Regions from separate parts of the Homo sapiens genome. Here region 1 is linked to region 2. Evidence: promoter capture Hi-C in human tissues and cell types (Jung and others, 2019). All regions are on one chromosome and are shown on one strand. The core of a region is centred on a gene start or on the middle of the fragment in contact, and the rest is flanking DNA. Distances in the headings are between cores, read along the strand shown.

Region 1 (6,412 bases), core at 1,595-4,094, 130 kb after region 2:
CACGCTCAGGCCTGTCCTCTGGAGAGCAGACTGCCGGGTGCTGGGCACACCTCTAGGCTGTCTGCAGATTGTGGTTGTGTAGGCAAGGGAGCAAAGCCAGGGGTAGGAAGAGAAAGGGGCAGGCTGCAGGCCAGGAGCTGGGAATTCTCTCCATGCTGCCACATTCCAGAGTTCTGGAACTCTGACGAGTCCAAAATTAAAATCTCCAACTGAGCCTGGCCTACTGGGTCCGTCTGTGGGAGACTCAAACCTCTTGGTCCACTGGCCTGGAGACATTTTAGAAGTGGAGGCTTTGTCTCGGAGCATGGAGGGGATAGGCCTGCCTGGGCTCCCGGCCTGCTGACTGTGTTCTGCTTGACACCAGGCCAGCTGGGCTAAGCGTTCAGATGTAAAGAGGAAGCTGCTGGGGCCTCCTGACAGCAGATGCAAAGCTGAGGTACCCAAACACCTCGACCTTTCTCAGGGGCTCATGTAAGCAAATTGCTTTATCAGCTTTATCAGTTTTTACATTTTCCTTACGCATTTTCATAGAATTTGCCCCATATTCCATGCCATTTTCTCAGGACATCCTTTTGAGCATCCTGGACCCAACCGTCTTCATATAAGAAGAAAAATTTTAGTTTTGGTTTCATCCATGATTATCCTAGACCCAAACATTTAGAAATAAGTTGTTATATGGAATAGCCACCCGAAGGTGTGAGTTTGGGCATAAAAAGCACACATTGCATATATCCTTATCTGTATAGAGTCACGTGGACCTGATTCTGCCACCTTCTGGCTGCGTCACCTGGGGCAAGTTATTTAACGCCTCTAAGCCTCAGGTTCCCCATCTGTAATCTGAAGCCCTGGCCTAGTAGATCTCTAGATAAACTCTAACATCACTCCTACCCCTAAAACTCTGGTACTTACCCCCTTTACTCTTCCTTCTTTATTTTGCATTCAGCCCAGGGATCTCATCTTCCCAAAGCTTCTTTCATGTTCCTGCCCCTTTTACCTTCACAGTTCCTGACATTGGAGAAGGCAGTGTTTTAAAGCCCAGCTCCAATGCCCTTTAATCCAGAAAGCCACACTCTTCAGTCGCTACATTGGAAGACCCACCTTGGAGGCTGGACGGAAACCTGGGGGTTCACCCAGCTCAACCCCCTCATTTAACAGGAAGGGAAACTGAGGGCAAAATGAGGCAGTGACTTAGAGACAGAGCCAGGTCTGGAACCCAAATGCCCTTTAACCTTGCCACCTCTGGGATCCACAACCCTCAGGGCCACCATTTTAACTTGCACATATTATTATTACTGTGATCATCTGTGCTTCCTTAGAACCTTAATACCTCTGAGGGCCAGAATCACATTGTGTTCATTCTGTAGCCACCCTGTCCTGCGCCAACCCTCCAGCATCATCCCTGTACCAGATGGTACCTCAATAAGTGTCTGTTAAGTTTCACTAAACATAAATCCCATTTTGATCGTTGCAAAAAAACCACGTCTCATTTGAAGACCTCCCTGTGTTCTTATATCTGACTACTGTTGTGGTAGAGCAAACTGAAAGGGTTTGCAAAAGCCGATTGTTAAATTTTGAAGAACGTTGTGAGCTGTTATTAAACATAGCCATAATTCAAATTAAATTATGTAAAATTATAGTTAAATACATTGCATTAAAAACAAAGGGAAGAAATGTTTAAAACTCATCATTTTCTAATTTTATTATACTTTACTTTGATATATTATCAAAGTTCTTGTGGTTGTTGACATTTATTGAATCTACATGCAGAAATCCCCTACCATGGTGTTCACATCTCTTTCCAGCCTGTAATCAGTGACATCATGTTGGTAGCTTGAAATCACCTTTGTGGGAGAATTTACCCCAAGCGAACTGGCAAGCACTACAAATCAGAGCTTGGTTTATTGTTTGGTTGATTGTCTGGAGCTGCACAGCCTCACACAGCTGCCACTAGTTCCATGTGGCTAACTGAGCACTTGAAATGTGGCTAGTCCAAGCTTAGATATGTCATATGTACTGGATATTGAAGATTCAGAATGGAAGAAAAGAATGTAAAATATATCATCAAAAATGTTTATATTGATTATCTATTGAAAGAATAGTGTTTTCTATATATTATGTCAAATATATTAGAATTAATTTAGTCTATTCCTTAAATGTGGCTACTAGCAGATTTTAAATAATATCTGTGGCTTTCATTGCATTTCTACTGGACAGCTCTGGTCTAAATTTAATAAAGTGATGGGGAAAATGTTTATAACGTAGATTAAAATTAAAAGTATGTTGTGCCCATTGATAATAACATTATGAATAGCCAAAAAATACAAAATAATATCCCGGTATTTAAAACCCATTATCTGATTCAGCCAAAAAGTCACTCACATCATTGAGGAGCAAGTAAGTTCCAACATTCATCTTCATCATTTCACGTTCATCTTAACTGTGAAGATGAACATGGGAGCTAACATTCATGTGGGGGCTATGCTGGTTTGTTGGTTGCAGCCACTGGCCAGCCATGGGCATAAGAGTTTGTCAAAAGCCAACTGAAAGCATTCCATGAGGGTCACTTGGCTGTATCAAGTTTATAATAAAGAGTATTGTAGGGCTGGGCACGGTGGCTCACGCCTGTAATCCCAGCACTTTGGGAGGCCGAGGTGGGTGGATCATGAGGTCAGGAGATCGAGACCATCCTGGCTAACATGGTGAAACCCCATCTCTAATAAAAATACAAAAAATTAGCCGGGCGTGGTGGCGGGCGCCTATAGTCCCAGCTACTTGGGAGGCTGAGGCAGGAGAATGGCTTGAACCTGGGAGGCGGAGCTTGCAGTGAGCCGAGATGGTGCCACTGCACTCCATCCTGGGCAACAGAGCGAGCCTCCGTCTCAAAAAAAAAAAAAAAAAAAGACTTGTAGATTTTATTATTATTTGTAAACTGTATGCTACATATCTAATATAGCAGTAAAACTTCTAGTAAACTTATAACATAAACATAAATACACATTTACATGTATATATATTTGTATATATACACATCTATGCATTTTTTCAGAGAGCTGGTTGTTAGGCTCAGCAGCACACTTTAGTTACCAGCACACCACTGTCTCCACCCCTCTCGCTACCCTGTGAGCCCATTGCCCAGGCCCTGTCCTTTGTGGCACTGACAGCCTGTCCCTTCCCTTCCTTCATTTTCCAAATCCGCAGAGTCTCAGAGGTGTGGACTAGAGGTCCCTGCGCCTCCTCTTCCCCTCCTCCCTTTTTTCCACTTTGGACATCTTTTTCAGTCTATTCTCCACTCCACTGTCCTGCCTCCCATCCCAGTTTGTAGACACGTGCCCTGGATAGTCAACCACAGTGCCACAGAGATGTCATTCCCCAGGTTGGCACTCAGCCCCAGCCCTGCCTGCCTGCTCTTGCCCTTCGGTACTGGCTGCTGACAGGCCTGGCACTCAGGATGTCAGGTGGTGACTAGGTCTCCCACCTGTCTGCTAGTCTTTTCTAACCCCATCAAAGATAGCTCTGAAGCAAGACCAAGGGGTGCCTACATCACAGAGAGGGGAGTCTGTGCCAGTGAATGGTGTCCAGAGCACTGGGGACACAGCTCTGCGGCTCTGCAGGTTTCTTGTAATCGCCATCATCGCAAACACCTTGTGCAGCCTGCAGCAATTCTGCCATGAACACCACACACAAAAAACACTACACCACCCAAGCTGTGCCCACCAGGAACCTCCAGGATGCAGGGGACACATTGATCAAGACTTCCAAAGGTCGAGGAGGGGGTACTTGGGGGTAGAAGTAGCAATCCTGTTTAAAGTAAATCATGAACTTTGGAGCAAGGCATGGCCTTAGAAGGAGACTCCAAGAGTTCGGTTCAGGGAGAAGTACAGGGGAAAGTTCCACTGCAGTGGGGTGAGATGGAGAAGGAAGTTAGAGACTGAAGCTCTGATTAGTCCCCTGGAGGAGGCAACATTTCAGAAACGTGGTCTAAAATACACTGGTCTAGGGCACAAGAAGAAGGAGGAGGAGACAAGTACTCCCGCTGCTGGGAAATCGATTTAGGACTAGAGTCCCCAGTGAACCCCTAAAAATTACCCACAGTTTCTAGGGTAGGTATTATTGTATCTAATAATAGTAATCATTTATTGCTATAGCTAACATTTATTGAGCTCTTACTATGGGCCTGGGATTTTATGTCTCAAACAAAAAGATGCAAAGAAGTAGTTATTATTATTATTATTACTGTTATTGTTATTATTATCCTCACTTCTACAGAAGCGAAAAGAGACTCAAGAAGATTAAAGAACTTGCTAAGTGTGGCAGCCCTGCTGGAGGCTGGGCCCAGAGCCAGGCCCCTCACCCCTGCAAGGCATCGCTCCTGCAGGATCGTCGTCACCCTCATCATCGCCATCCTTGTTCCTGACAGGCAGGAGATCCTGGTATTTTTCTGTGTGCTTCCCCTTCTCCATCCCTTTTGGTGATTTTCTGAACATTGTGCAGTTGACAGTGTGGTCATATTCCCATCGTGTAGATGAGGACCCTGAGGTACAAAGAGGTGACATGGGAAATGCTGAGACAGGGCGCAGGTTTGATGTGTTTCTCAGTAGTCTGAAGCAATTGAGAAAAGTAAGTGCAATGCAGTAAATCTTTCATGGGGCTAGCTTGACTTTATCTAAAGGGCTGAGCTTAGTCTGAGAGAATGTCCTTCCTACTGTTAAATTGTCCTTTTCTTTTATGAAATGATGACGGTAGTGGGTGGTGATTGTTGCACTCTTAATGTCCAATTTTGGCAAAATAAAAGGCTGGCTCTCTGGAGCTCCAAATCAGCCCCAGCAGCTGATGTGAAATGCTGTTTGATGATGGTTGACTCCTAACGTCTGACTGTAGTGGTCTGGAGGCTCTGGGCCTGGCTCAGGGCTCCCTCACTGCACATCTCTTCCAGCCAAAGCATTTACCCAGGGACACCTACGCTGCTCACAAACATGAAGGATGCTCAAAGGTGTGGCCCTGCCACCTCCATCTGAGTTGGGAAAATGCCTTCCATTACCCCTGACCATGGATTAAGGGGTCTCAGATCCAGAGAGCCCTGAGGCTGAGCTGGACTTGCCTGGGAGGATGTGCAGAGGGAATGCCCCAGCCTTTCTGGCTTCAGAGGGTGCAGTGTCCCCACCAACTCTCTTTCCAAACCTGCCTCAGCCTGCATGGGGCCCCTTTCCCTGGTACTCACTTTGTTTGCTTTGGGGAGAAAATCGAGAAAGAATCTTCCCTCTACCCTCCCTTGTCCCAGCCATCCCTAAAGCAGTCCAGTGTTATGATTCATCCACCTTTTATTTGCTTCAAGGATTTTCCATGGCATCTCAGAGGCCCCTCTCTTCCCATTTGGCTGGATTCCAAGACCATTAAAGATCTATTCAAACAAACAAACAAAAAAATCTGGATCGAGTGAGGGCAGCTGGTTCCCATTTGGCTCAGCTGTGATCCTGAAGTTTCTGTGTTATGGTGTAGCCTTCATTTCTGGATCATCAGTGGATTTCTCTACCGCTTTCACTAGCACCAGCTGTGGACTGCAATTGTACTCTAGTCAAGTATGGAGGGAATAAGAAATAGTTATGGCAGAAACCTGGGCTTGAAAATGCATCTCTCCTTGAGCTGGCACTTTGAGAAGGCCACAACTGAATGAAGGGACATTAGAGAGTGAGCCTCAGGTCAGGCTGCAGGCCTGGGAAGGCCAAGGGTAGAGCCAGCTGGGAAGAGACAGTCCTCATTGCTGGCCATGGAGGGAGTGAGCTGTTGGGAGCAAGGGCCCGTGTGGCTGGAGGGTGAAGGTCAGATGTAAGGTAGAACTTTTCTAAAGCCAGGATGGGAGACAAGATGGCCATCTCCAGCCTGCTGGACCACCACACCAATGTCTGAAGAAAGGCCCGTGCCCGGAAGAGGCCACTTGCACGGCCAGCCCCATCTCCTCTCTCCCTCTCCAGAGCCTTCTTGCTGGTCTCAGGTTTCATTCTGATGGTTCTGCTCCCAGTTAACTCAGCTCAGGATAAGCTGTCCACCCCAGTCTGCTCCAACCTCTCTCCCTCCAAAGTCACGCCCACCCTCCACACCCCAGTTCCACCTCAGTCCACCACCTCCTCCCTCTCCCAACTCCTCCCTGTCCCCATTGCTTCCTGTGGGTCCCACACCTCCTGCATTGCTCTAGCCACCTCTGGACCAGGGCTTCAAGGAAGGCAAAAGTGGAGCTGAGTCCTAGGCACTGTCCAGACACCCCCAACACTGAGAGGATCCACCTCCACGGCCTGGAAGTGACAACAGGCCACAGCCTCTGCGGGCAGCATGCAGTAGGAAAGCCCAGGGAAAAGGGACCCAGCCAGTGCCTGGGACCCAGAGACATCAGGCTTTGGCTGATGGAATATGATAGAAG
Region 2 (6,315 bases), core at 3,064-5,563:
AGCCTAGCCCCCTGGGTTTGAATTCTGGCTCTGTCCCGTGCAAGCTGTGGGCAAGTTGGGTAAGTGACTTGGCCTTTCTGCCTCATGATGCACAGCTTCGTCATCCATAGAATGAGGCTAACACTAGTTCTGCCTCACAGGGCTGTTGTGAGCTAACATGTCACATGCATTAATACCTGAAGAGCACTAGGACAGTGCCTGGTACAGGCTCTGTACTGTGAAAGTGTTTGCTATTATTCTTAAAATACCAGTTGGACCTCATCCTTCCCCGATTGTCTCACTTTTAAAAGCCAAAGTTCTCATCTTGAGCTGCAAATCCTGTCTCTTAATCTCACCTTGCTACTCACTCCTCAAGAAAGGCATTGCTTCTGCTGACAGGCTGGCCTCCAGCCCTCCCACAGCCTCACTGCATCTCACCTGTCACAGTCTGCTAGAGTTGTCCCCTTCACTTGGCAGGCCCTTCCTCTTTCTTGCCACCCATTCCTGTCCTTTCCCCATTTCCAAAATGGAGGATAATGCCATTGGAATGAGCCATTATCCTCCAAGGGCCAGAGCAAATCGCACCTCCTCCAGGAAGGCTTCCTGGACTCCCGCTCTTTCCCTTTCTTGGGATTCCTCTCCCTTCTTCTCTGTTTGTGTGTAGGTGCAGGTGGTCTGTGCACACTGGACTGGGAAAGAGTTAGCCTTTTTTCTTTCAATAGCACCCACACTTTCTAGCACAGTGTCTGGCATTGAGTAGGCATGTGGTTGACACCTGCAGTGAGTGTCCCCAACACGGCTCCACTTCACTGACCCAAACCCTTATGACCTGTTGCTCTCAGTATATTTGCCCTGTTTCTCCTCAATAGAAAGACACCTGTTTCAACTTGCCTGCCTCTAACATGCACTCCCATAGGACACTGGACTGTCACAAGGCACTGGATTCCCATGGGGCACTGGATTCCCATAGGACACTGGATTCCCATGGGGCACTCAGCCCGGGACCTGGTGAGAAAATTTATCTGGGCCTCAGCCTCTTGAAAGCACTTAATTACCATATGCTTATCAACCACCTACTCCAAGCTGTGAATTAGACCTGGAGCTCATCCTCAGGGGGAGCAAGTGTGGCAGAAGACAAAACAGGAACCACAAAGAACTGGGAAGTGAGGCAGAAGGAGCTAGAGCCTGATATGCAGGGAAAGGGCAGAAGGGCTGTGCAGGAAGCCAGAGTTGGGGGTGAGAGAAAAGGTGGGCTGTGGTAGCTTGGACATGGAGCAGAGAGATGCTGACAGGGGTGTGTCAGGCAGGAGAAGCAGCAGGAACAAAAGCCCGGAGGGAAGAGGCCTGGGGATCTGTCTGTGGAATAGGAAGTAGTTCAGGATCTGCAAAGGCACAACAGGCAGTTTCAGCTGGAAGCTGGAGCTCCAGAAGCCACACATGAAAGAGCTTATTTTACAGAGAGAGAGAGATCTGAGGGCTTTATTTAGGTGGAGTAGTGGGGAGAGAGATGGCAATACACAGTCTCAGAGCTCCTACCGTGTGCCAAGTGGGGTGCCCTGCTGACACCATCCCACCTAACTGTTCTGCCACCCAGTGAACTAAGTTTAGGCTTCCCATTTTATAAATGGGGAATCAGGGCCCAGACTGTTTCTGTCCCTTGCCCCAGGTCCACCAGTGGGGTAAAAGCAGCACTGACTCACTTTTTCTTGTAGCCCTCCAGTGCAGCCTGGAGGCTGCAGAGCTCTGACTCTAGCCTCACGCGGTCCCCGGACACACAGTCCAGCTGCCGCCGAAGGGCGCTGATATAGCCCTCGAAGATGGGCTCGATGTTGGTCTGGCAGCACCTCTGCTGCTGCATGAAGTTCCACTTGGTCTCCAGCAGCTTGTTCTTCTGCTCCAGGAAACGGACCTGCAGCCAAGAATGGAATATCACCAGGCAGCAGAGATCCTGGGGACCATGACTTAGAGAGGGCAATGGAATGAGTTTCTGCCCTGTCTCCCAACACATGGCTACCAGTGCACTAGAATTTGCAAAAATCAGGGTCTCTGCATAGACTGGCATCTGAGGGCATGTGTGTCTGTGTCTCCCCTGCCTGGGAGAGCCTAGTGGACCCCTACTTTCCACTCAGAGGTTGCGTGTTGTAGTGGATGGTACTTCTCCAAGAGGCCTAGGCAAGTCCTGTTTCAGCACTGCCTGCCTGCCTCTCTCTATCCTCGTGACCTTGACCAAGACATCCTGTCCCTTCAAGCCTCACTTTGCTTCCCAAAGCTCCTACCTGGGACAGTGTATGGGAAGGGACTCTGTTAACTTCATACTAGTGTCAGAGGATGTGAAGCTTGGGGGTCGAGGCTTTCCTTTATGACAGCCTAGGGACACTCAGGGGAAAAGACGGATCAAGGGACTCTAAGCTCTTTTCACCTACTGTGCTGCATCCTACATGGCTGTATCTGAAAAAAGTCCAGGTCCTAGTAATGTGGACAGCTGCTGGCCTCCTCCTCCCTTTTCGTAAAGTGGAAACTGAGATTAGGAGTTGAGTAAGTTCACCATGGCCACCCGGCTGGACATTGACTAAGGGAACGTGGTCTCCAGCCCTTGCTCTGGAATTTTCCACATCGTGCATTGTCTGTCAAGAAAACTACAGAAGTATCATTGCCCTACTTCTGGTCAGTGGCTGCATCAACAGGAGGCTCCCAGCCTAACAGAAGGTGGTGTGATGTTGTTGCTAATTCGGGCCCATGTTTTTGGAATAAGTTTATAGCCAGAACTTAATAAGCTTTAGAAATAAAACTGTAAGTTTGACTAAACAAGTTCCTCTGTGAAGCACTTTGGCATATATTACCTCCTCTAATCTCCCACCGTCATTCCTCCCCTTCCTCACTGGGCAGCACCGTCCAAAGGCCAAGAGGTGAATGGCTTGCCCGGGGATTCCGGGTGTAGGAGTAGAGTCAATGCCAGTGGCCAGGGCTCCTGACCTCTGGCCCAGGACTCTTGCCCCTAAACCTTACGGTCACCAGAAACACCAGCTCAAACTGTGGAATGAATCCTCACCCCAAGAGCCTCCCTGGGGCGTGGGATGGACCCAGAGGCTGTTGAGTCCTTCAGCACCTTCAGAAGGCATGCCACATCTTTTCCTGCAGTGGGTGCTGTACTGTAGATGTGGGAATCTGCGCTCTTCCTGCAGTGGGTGCTATACTGTAGATGTGGGAATCTGCACTGTTCCTGCAGTGGGTGCTGTGCTGTAGATGTGGGAATCTGCACTGTTCCTGCAGTGGGTGCAGATTCAGTTCAGCACCTTCTGAAGGCATGCCTTCCTAGCAGCCTTTCAGTGGCTCTGGAGATGACAGATGTAAGACTTTTGTGACCGTCACCCTGTGCCTCTAGCTCTGACTGTCCACTTTCCTCTCATCCCAGGCCTAAAATGATTGGAAACTCTGAGGTCACAGTGTCCATCCTCACCTTCAGGCTCAAGAGTTGTGACACAGCTCAGGCACACAGAAGGCGGTTCTACTGTTAAAGCCTCATCAGGAAGGGCATTTCTCTGCCTCTCTGGTCATTCCTTTCAGTATTGCTTTGGAAGTTCCTCTTATAGTCTGACCTCAGGCAACCTTGGTGATTGGTGATTTTGTCAGATAATATTCAGAGAAAGATGATATATTTTAAGAAAGACAAGGAAGCAGAAATGTTTAGTGCAGAATCTGATCTAACTGGCTTTCAAAGGCTGGTGGTCGTGGAATGTGAGGGAGGCCACTGGATAAACTGAGGCCTCCTCAATGTCAGTCTCCTCCTGGTTCCCTTGGACCAGAACAAGACCAGACCCCAGATCTGCAGTGGGTCCTCTCACGGCCCTGGGCCACTGCCCCCTTACCTTGTTGATGAAAGATGCGAAACGGTTGTTGAGGCACTTGATCTGCTCCTTCTCATCCCTCTTTACCCTCTGCACAGTCGGGTCTATCTCCAGTGCCAGTGGGACCAGCAGGCTCTCATTGATGGTGACAGGGGTGATGCAGGCAGAAGGCCCACAGGTGGCTCCCAGTCGGTACCCGAAGCCAGGCAGGGTACCTCCACACCTGGAGGCTACCCGGGGCCTCCCAAAGCCCACGTTGCACAGGCTCCGTGAGCCAAGGCAGCCCAGAGCTCGGAGGCCCCTACCACCCCCGGGCCGGCATGGCCCCTTGCTCACTGCATAGTGGGTGACCATCCGGGGCATGACAGCCGAGTATGAGCTGAAACTCTGACTGCCACACCTGGAGCCTGGCTGGAAAGAGTGGTACGACATGGCAGGAGAGAGAGGCAGAGAAATGCGGCCCTGGAGGAAAGAACCGGGGCAGGATGATCAAGTCAGGCTCAGCTTCCCCCCTTTTATCTGGTAGGGGGATGGAGGACTGAGATGTGTCAAACCCCAAATCACCATTAAACTAGGTTTATGAGCTTGGGATATTGGCAGAGCTAAGTAGCAAGGTGGATAATTAGGGTAGCGAAGAGCAAAGAGAAGGGGCCAATGGTCAGTGCTGGTGGGCCCTATAAAAATCCTATTTGTCCTCCTTCCTTGATTGTGGGGGTGATGAAAGGGGCCAACCAGACAGATATGTTCCATGTATCCAGTGGCTCAGCCTCAAGGAAAGGGAGAGTTGGGACTACGTCATTTCATAGGAGGGGAGGCGTGCCATGAATTATACACCCTGGCTTCTCTGGGATTAGAGGGCAAGTCCCATATGCTTAAAGATGCTCTGGCTCTTTCCCCAAGGCTGCTCCTAGGCTTTTTTGCAGATCCTCAACCCAAGTGCCCTCTGTGGGCTCCTAGGTGAGTCAGGAAGTTCCCAGGAGGAAGGCTTTTGGGGTGGGAGAATCCTCCCTACAACAGGCCGGACCTTAACCCTCCTGAGCTCTGGCTCAGTGACCCACTGTCCCATGAGGGTCTTGAAGGTAGACAGACTCCAGGCATAGACACTTTTCTACAGGGCCCATCAGTCCACAAAGGCTGCAGGGAACTCAAGAGGAGAGGCCTGGTGCTTGAGAAGGGCAGAGGAAGGGACGCTCTCCTCAACACTTCTGGGGCCCCCAGAAGGCATGATTTCAGCATCAGGTCTCGGCTTCCATGTGGCTGTTCCTTTCCCCTTTTGCCCAACCCAGCCTGAGTGTCCCTGAGGTCAACAGAGCCAGCTTTGGCCTGAGGATGTCTCTGGGGAGAGTTGTTGCCCTTGGGAATTTTCAGGTGGAGGTGGGATTCAGGTTTTCTTTCCAGCTCAGGTCGCAGACACAGCTCTTTGGAGATGTCTGAAGCCCCCGCCTCACTCTCTTTCCTCCTCTTTTCCATCAATTTCATCAGTGAAACTTTTGCCATGGCCGAATGGCCTTTCCCTTCCACACTGAGACTTATCACCAGGTCAAAATCAAACCAATAATAATAATAATAACAATAATAAACATTTATTGGGCATTTATTGTGTGTTGGGACCACTCCGTACTCTTTACATCCATGGTCTCATTTAATTCTCTGACCACACAATGAGATAGTTACTATGCCACAGACAGGAAAATGGGAAGCACAGCAGTTAAGAGCAACATCCCCAAGTCACACAGCTTGTGGCTGATCAGCTGGGAGTCCATCCTGTTCCTTTTGACTTCACCCTGCCATGCTGCTCCACAGCAGGGAAGCCCAGGTGAGGAATTGGGAATCTGCTGCCCATAAATGTTCTGTTGTCCCTGTCCGTCAGCCTTCCAACCTGTGGATTAGGAGACTGGAACTCAAAGGTTTCCTGAGCCTCAGAAATTCTCAGTCTCATTGTGACATTTCACACTCCCTGTCCCCTTTTTCATAGTCCTGACTGTGGGCCCCAGAGTAGTGGAGGAGGAGGGGTGCAAGGCGAGACCACAGGCCACAATGGGAGGCAGAAGGTTGGGTGAGGGGGTCCAATTGCAGGGTGTCAGGGGAAGAAGACCACACTCTTCCCTGGACTGAGTCCACAGAGGGGGCCCAGGATGGTGTGAATGTTGATGGAGACACTCAGAGGCCCCACCAGAGAGCAGATTCCCACTAGAGGGGGTGAGGGAGACAGTGAGCTGCACCGGAGGGCAGGGGTCACTGCAGCAGTGGACACAGCAGAGTCTCCCCGCCATGTCCAGGCCAGAGGAGGGCCTCAGTGAGCATGTTGGGCTCCTGGAGTCCAGAACCAGAGCTCAGGAGCAGAGGGCAGGGCGGTTCCTTGGATTCATTGTGGGAGGGAGGCACCTGTTTCCTGAGCCCCCCGAGTCCAGGGTTGCCCTCTGAGTGTGAGCTAGGGCAGGACTCAGTCAAGACCTAGACAGTTTGGCGGCATTTTATGAAAGTGGGTTCA

What was found. Contacts are between HindIII fragments. The study calls those that stand out against the background at their distance.
Region 1: a fragment that was not itself captured here is called in contact with the fragment with the promoter of KRT82 in region 2 in 2 of the 25 tissues and cell types used here (aorta and thymus).

What each region holds. Positions count from the first base shown.
Region 1 is chr12:52,533,902-52,540,313 of GRCh38, forward strand. No RefSeq gene overlaps it. Among named protein-coding and RNA genes, the nearest start is that of KRT71, 16 kb to the right of the region's middle. The HindIII fragment of the contact is 6,747 bases long and covers 1-6,218 here.
Region 2 is chr12:52,402,022-52,408,336 of GRCh38, forward strand. KRT82 (keratin 82) reads right to left here and starts at 4,314. Exons shown (of 9, transcript NM_033033.4): 1 at 3,846-4,314; 2 at 1,680-1,888. The coding sequence starts at 4,256. The HindIII fragment of the contact is 10,212 bases long and covers 2,535-6,315 here.